Linked DNA regions of Homo sapiens: region 2 is linked to region 1. Evidence: promoter capture Hi-C in human tissues and cell types (Jung and others, 2019). All regions are on one chromosome and are shown on one strand. Each heading gives the region's core, a stretch centred on a gene start or on the middle of the fragment in contact. The rest is flanking DNA. Distances are from core to core; before and after follow the strand shown.

The links. Contacts are between HindIII fragments. The study calls those that stand out against the background at their distance.
Region 2: a fragment that was not itself captured here is called in contact with the fragment with the promoter of GPATCH3 in region 1 in 1 of the 25 tissues and cell types used here (thymus).

What each region holds. Positions count from the first base shown.
Region 1 is chr1:26,898,722-26,902,318 of GRCh38, forward strand. It overlaps GPATCH3 (G-patch domain containing 3), which reads right to left and starts at 1,746. Exons shown (of 7, transcript NM_022078.3): 1 at 1,271-1,746. The coding sequence starts at 1,721. It also overlaps a transcript of NUDC not described here. RefSeq lists an enhancer at 1,691-1,810. The HindIII fragment of the contact is 3,671 bases long and covers 354-3,597 here.
Region 2 is chr1:26,941,596-26,945,192 of GRCh38, forward strand. It overlaps NUDC (nuclear distribution C, dynein complex regulator), which reads left to right. Exons shown (of 9, transcript NM_006600.4): 3 at 1-65; 4 at 158-223; 5 at 1,065-1,181; 6 at 1,276-1,470. Among named protein-coding and RNA genes, the nearest start is that of KDF1, 17 kb to the right of the region's middle. The HindIII fragment of the contact is 5,756 bases long and covers 1-3,597 here.

The DNA.
Region 1 (3,597 bases), core at 496-2,995:
AGTGGCGCGATCTTGACTCATTGCAACCTCCACCTCCTGGGCTCAAGTGATCCCCCCACCTCAACCTCACAAGTAGCTGGGACTACAGGCATGCGCCACCACAACCGGCTAATTTGTATTTTTGGTAGAGACAGGGTTTCACCATGTTGCCCAGGCTGGTATGGAACTCCTGAGCTCAAGAGATCCACCCACCTGTGCCTCCCAAAGTGCTGGGATTACAGGCACGAGCCATTGCAACCCAGCCCACAATGAACAATTTAACATGCCCTGAAAGTTTTTCACGGGCTTTCAAAGCTGTGTCTTTGCAAACGCCATTTACCCTGAAACCCAGAAACACCATTCTCTCCTATTAACTCCTATTTATTTTTCAAGACCCAGATGGAAAGCCACATTTCATGATCCATCTAGGAAGTTAGTTTCTCCCTTCTCTGTCATCTCACAGCACTTGGTGATAAACAGTATAGGCTCTGGAACAGATGCCTAGGTTTGTTGTAGCTCTGACACTAACTAACTCTGTAACCTCAGGCAAGTCACATAACTTCGGCTTCCCTCAGTTTCTTCACCTATGAAATGGGAGAAACAACAGCTCCTATCTCATAGGACTGTTGAGAGGGGTAAGAAAACAAAAGGCTTAGAACAGCGCCTACTAAATACAGAGTGCTCAGTGAATGCTAACAATTAGAATGACATCTCTGTGGCAATAACCTTTTTCCAAATGTCTTCCTTTGTGGATTCTGAGCACACACTATGTCCAACTGTTCTCTGCATACCCAGCTAGTCACACTAGGTCTAGCAATGTAAGCATTTGTTGAATGTGTGAACTGGAGGGCTCTGCACTGTCCTGTTTCCCCATCAAACTGATTTCCCATGAAAGTGGGAGCTGTCCAGAGAAAAGATTGTCTCTTCATTTGTATCTTACTGAAAGGACTGGGTAGGAAGCACAGAGAGAGCAGGAGAGAAAGACAGTAAAAGGGTTAGAGACTGGATTTCCTTTTTTCTTTCTGTGTTAGTGCAAAATCAACCCCTTGGATAGAGAAAGGGTCTCAAAAGGGACCTAACAAAATGAAGGCTCTTCCGAATAAGCCTCTCCGGTTTATTTTTCTCCATGTATTGGACTAACTCCCTGCAAGTTGAGCCTGAAGCTCTGTCTAGAATATGAACTAAACTCATAGAGTCCTAACCAGAGGCCTGACTTATCCTCACCACTCCTCTGAAAAGGTGCCTCTGTTCCAGGCCCGTAGGCCCAGTCTATTAACTTTCTCACTCTTACCTGATGCCTCCGTAGGTAGCCGAAGTCTGCGGATGAGACAGCGACCCGGTAGCCAAGTCCCGTGAGAATCCAGCCACCGGCGGCCCGAGTACATGCGAATAAGCCTCTGAGCTTGAGCCAACCCCCTTACCGAGATGACGCAGCAGCAGGTGCGGGTCTGGATTGGAGTAGAGTCTCGAGTGGAGAGAGGCCGGACATCGGTGGCCGAAGTCTGAGAGAGAAGCTGGCCCTCAGCGGCTGGGTCGGTAGGAATTAGGGCAGAGTTAGGAGCGGCCTGCGGAGGGGCCCGCTCAGGCCGATGCCGGTAGTGGAAACAGAGGAAGCCACCGCCGCGCTCTTCTCGGAACTGGCTAAAATAGCTCCGTAAATGGGCCGAGCGCAACACGGAGGGGATACCGCTCACTACCAGGTAAACTGTCGCCTCCTCCTCCGCCTCGCCGGGCACCGCCATCTTGGATTGTCACATGATCAGCTAGAACCAAGTCTCGCGAGAACACCGCGAGCAACGTTCCAGCCCCTGCGTTGCGAGATTGTGAAAATTCTAACTAGTCCTTTGGGATTGGGGTTGTGGAACCTGGAGCTGGAAGATCCGAAGTCTTCTGTGTTCCTTTCCCACAGAGGGAAGCCGGCGATGATGGAAAAACTCACCTGGAAAATGGGGTCATAGAGTTCTTTCATAAAGCTCTCATGAGGACCAAATAAGAAGCCTGCGGGAGGGGTCATTTTTGAGGTATTTAGTTGTGGATATTGCACACCTAATCTCAACCTTCCTCAGTTCTGAACCTTTAGTCGTTCTTCCATTTATTTTTCCAAAATGTGTTGATGAACTCCCACAAATCGGTAAGAAAAAGATAACCCGGTAGAAAAATGGGCCGAAGATACTTCGCAAAAGAGGAAACACGCAGGTCCAATTTACAATGAAAGTGCTATGAGTTACTAGAGGCTTACGTTAAAGAAAAGATGCACAACTCAATAATAAAAGAAATGCAGCGAGACCCACTTTGCATCCACTATGTTGGCAAACTTTAAAACCTTAGAGTCGATGACAACATGGTGGAACTGAAGCTCTCATACACTGTTGGTGGAAATGTAAGTTGATACAACCACTTTGGGAAACAATTGGCGTTATCTAGTAAAAGCAAAGCTACACATCATTTGACTCAGCACTTGTAGGTAATATTTTATTTATTTTTGAGTTGGGGTCTCGCTCTGTCGCCCAGGCTGGAGTGCTGGGACCACAGATGCAACCCACTATGCCTGGCTAATTTTTTAAACTATTTGTAGAGATGGGGTCTCACTGCATTGCCCAGGCTGGTATTGAACTCCAGGGCTCAAGTGATCCACTGGCCTCAGCCTCCCAAAGTGTTAGGATTACAGGTGTGAGCCACGGTCCCCGCCTTTTTGTCTTTTTTTTTTTTTTTTTTTTTTTTTGAGATGGAGCCTCGCTCTGTCATCCAGGCTGGAGTGCAATGGTGCGATCTCGGCTCACTGCAACCTCCGCCTCCCGGGTTCAAGCAATTCTCCTGTCTCAGCCTCCCGAGTAGCTGGGACTACAGGTGCGTGCCACCACGCCCGGCTAATTTTTGTATTTTTAGTAGAGACGGGGTTTCACCATATTGGTCAGGCTGGTCTCGAACTCCTGACCTCAGGTGATCCACCCGCCTTGGCCTCCCAAAGTGCTGAGATTACAGATGTAAGCCACCGCACCCGGCCCTCTTTGTACGTTTTTTAATTGGGTTATTTGATTACTATTGATTCATTGATTCATAATTCAGACAAAGTCTACACATTATACTGGGTGATAGGAGGAACCTGTAGATTGAGAGACCTCAAACAAAAGCAAAAAATAAAGGGCCAAGCTCAGTGGTTCACGCCTGTAATCCCAGCACTTTGGCAAGCTGGTGTAGGAGGATCCCTTGAGCTTAGAAGTTTGAGACCAGCCTGGCCAAGTTGGCAAGACCCTTGTCTAAACAATAAAAAAAATGACTGCACATGTTTATCAGAAGACTTATTGATAATGTTGACTTTTACCCAAGCCCTGTGATCCTGGAAAACTAAGGCTTAAGAAATGCCTTCCCACTGTTTTGTGTTCTGGAACACAGCATATTGCAAAAAAACATCCTTCCCCAAGTGAGTTAGGTAAGACTGGTGTATGCCCCTCTGGTTCACCAATGACAAAGCCAGACACAGACTCCATATTCCAAATCTCCTCATGAAAGCTTTGAGGAACTTCTTGTCCCCACTGATCAGTTGGAACAAACTTTGGTTAAAACTTCTCTCCTTCCCCCAGCTTCCCGAACTTTGGCTTACCCTCAGCTTGAGCCAGC
Region 2 (3,597 bases), core at 523-3,022, 43 kb after region 1:
CAGGGCCCCAGATCAAGGAGCTAACTGATGAAGAGGCAGAGAGGCTGCAGCTAGAGATTGACCAGGTGAAGGGTGGGCTTCCCTTCTCCACCCCTCAGATCCCCCCTGGCACTGAGCAGTGGGGTCCTGTTGCCAACTGCTGTGCTCTTTGCCCCAGAAAAAGGATGCAGAGAATCATGAGGCCCAGCTCAAGAACGGCAGCCTTGACTCCCCAGGGAAGCAGGTGAGATGGACTGCAGGGACTTGGGATGAGCCAGGAGCTTGGAACTTACAGGAAATCTCCTGCCTACTGCTTTCTCTGGAATACCCTTCCTTATCCTATCCCCTCCCCTCCTGGCTTTGGGAATCTTCCCCATACTTTAAGATCACACTCAGAGACATTGAACCAAAGGATCCAGGTTAAAAAAATAAAAACCTGCCAGGCGCAGTGGCTCACACCTGTAATCCCAGCACTTTGGGAGGCCGAGGTGGGTAAATCACGAGGTCTGGAGTTCAAGACCAACTTGGCCAAGATGGTGAAACCCCATCTCTACTAAAAATACAAAAATTAGCCAGGCATGGTGGTGGGCGCCCGTAATCCCAGCTACTCGGGAGGCTGAGGCAGAGAATTGCTTGAACCCGGGAGGCGGAGGTTGCCATGAGCCGAGATCACGCCACTGCACTCCAGCCTGGGCGACAGAGCAAGACTCCGTCCCAAAAAAATAAAATAAAAACCGACTGACCTTAACCTGTTTATGGCAAGAAAACCCAATAGCCAGAGAGGGCAGTGCCTATTACAGGTCCCATCTGAGGTTGGCTGGGTTCTGTGGGCCCAGCCATATCCTTTGTCACATGGTATAATATTAATAGTCTGAGCTCCTCTCAGACTGAGATCAGAACCAAGTTTTACCTGGTTCCCAGTGGACCAAGGCTTGGGGGTCTGCCCCTCTGTGGAGTGGGCAGGGACCAGGTCTGTTTTCTTTTGTGGCTGTATGCCCAGTGCTAGCCCTGGGCTTGGCCCAGTGAGGGTTCAATCTGTGTCTTGTCTGTCAAGTAAGTAGCTGAGTGTCCCTGATTGTAAGCAGGATACTGAGGAAGATGAGGAGGAAGATGAGAAGGACAAAGGAAAACTGAAGCCCAACCTAGGCAACGGGGCAGACCTGCCCAATTACCGCTGGACCCAGACCCTGTCGGAGCTGGACGTGAGTGTCAGGGACCAGAGGTAAAGCTTAGGGGGCCAGCCTGGGGTACCAGCAGCACTTAGTGGCCTCTTCTGACTGCCTCTGCCCTATGCAGCTGGCGGTCCCTTTCTGTGTGAACTTCCGGCTGAAAGGGAAGGACATGGTGGTGGACATCCAGCGGCGGCACCTCCGGGTGGGGCTCAAGGGGCAGCCAGCGATCATTGATGGGGAGCTCTACAATGAAGTGAAGGTGGAGGAGAGCTCGTGGCTCATTGAGGACGGCAAGGTGGTGACTGTGCATCTGGAGAAGGTATGTGAGGCCCAGCCCTTCTAGCCTGGGGTGTTGATGGAAGTAGAAGGGAGGATGTGTGCTTAGTTTACTCAGGAGCCATGCTGGGGGCATTGTGGGATTATCTTAATCCCCATGACAACACTCTTTAAAGTAGATCTGTCTCTATTTTATTTTCTTAAAGACAAGGTCTCACTCTGTTGCCCAGGCTGAAGTGCAGTAACACCTTCTTAGCTCACTGCAGCCTTGAACCCTTGGGCCCAAGCAATTCTCTCGCCTCGTCCTCCTGAGTAGCTAAGACTACAGGTGTACACCACCACGCTCGGCTAATTTTTGTTATTAAATTTTTTTGTAGAGACCGGGGGGTCTCACTATATTTCCCAGGCTGGTCTTGAACTCCTGGCCTCAAGTGATCTTCACACCTTGGCCTCCCAAAGTGCTGAGATTACAGGCTTGAGTCAGGAAAAGAGCTCGTTGATTTACCCAAGCTCCTACCTCTGGGAAGGGGTGGAGTCAGAATTGAAAGTCTTAGTTTCTAAAGCCACTTCTTTTTCACTAGGTTTGTACATGCATTCAATTCATCAAATACTTGAACACCTGCTCTGTGCCTGGTACTGTTCTTGTTCTAAGTGCTGGAAAGAGAACAGTGAACAAAACATAGGAAAATATGTGCCCTCAGGAAGCCTTCATTCTCAACCTCACTGCCTTTACAGAGAGGTAGGACACAGAGATCAGTAAATAAAGGTGGTCTGAAAAGGGCCAAGGGTCTGAGGAGAACTTCCCAGGGCACATAAGACCCTGTAACAGCCTGTCCGACTGGCACTGGCTGCCTTCACTCACTCACCCCTCCATGCCTCTGCACTTGCTTTGTCGCCCAGGCTGGAGTGCAGTGGCGCGATCTCGGCTCACTGCGAGCTCCGCCTCCTGGGTTCATGCCATTCTCCTGCTTCAGCCTCCAGTGTAGCTGGGACTACAGGCGCCCGCCACCATGCCTGTATTTTTTTTTTTGTCTGTTTTGTTTTCTATTTTTTAGTAGAGACAGGGTTTCACCGTGTTAGCCAGGATGGTCTCGATCTCCTGACCTTGTGATCCGCCCACCTCGGCCTCCCAAAGTGCTGGGATTACAGGTGTGAGCCACCATGCCCAGCCCTTTCCCTGCCTTTTAAATTTATTTTTTATTTTTTGAGACAGGGTCTTGTTCTCACCCAGGCTGGAATGCAGTGGCGCAATCACGGCTTACTGCAGCCTTGACCTCCCGGGCTCAAACGACCCTCCCACCTCAGCTTCCTGAGTAACTGCGAGCGCCACCCTACCTGGCTAATTTTTAAATGTTTTTTGTAAAGACAGGGTCTCATGTTGCCCAGGCTGGTCTGAAACTCCTGGGCTCAAGGGATCTTCCTGCCTTGGCTTCCCAAAGTGTTGGGATTACAGGTAGGAGCCACTGCACCTGGCACTTCCCTGCTTAAAAACTTTTTCTGGCTGGGCGTGGTAGCTCATGCCTGTAATCCTAGCGCTTTGGGAGGCTGAGGTGGGCAGATCACGAGGTCAGGAGTTTGAGACCAGCCTGGCCAAGATGGCAAACCCCATCTCTAATAAAAATACAAAAAATTAGCTGGGCATGGTGGTGGGCGCCTGTAATCCCAGCTACTTGGGAGTCTGAGGCAGGAGAATCGCTTGAACCCAGGAGGTGGAGGTTGCAGTGAGCTGACTGCACCACTGCACATGGTGGCTCACACCTGTAATCCCAACACTTTGGGAGACTGAGGCAGGCAGATCATCTGAGGTCAGGAGTTTGAGACCAGCCTGGCCCAATATGGTGAAGCCCCGTCTCTACTAAAAATACAAAAATTAGCCAGGTGTGGTGGTGCATGCCTATAATCCCAGTTACTCGGGAGGCTGAGGCCGGAGAATTGCTTGAACCCGGGAGGCAGAGGTTGCAGTGAGCCGAGATGGTGCCACAGCACTCCAGCCTGGACAAGAAGAACAAGACTCCATCTCAAAAAATATATATATTTATTTTCTTCCCATTTTAAATCTGGAATACTGCTTTGTGTCTTAAGACTCAGCCCGAGTGTCACTTTCAAACTTTTCTCCCTCCACCCTGGATGAATATCTCCCTTTCTGCTTTCTTCTTTCCCTTATCACACT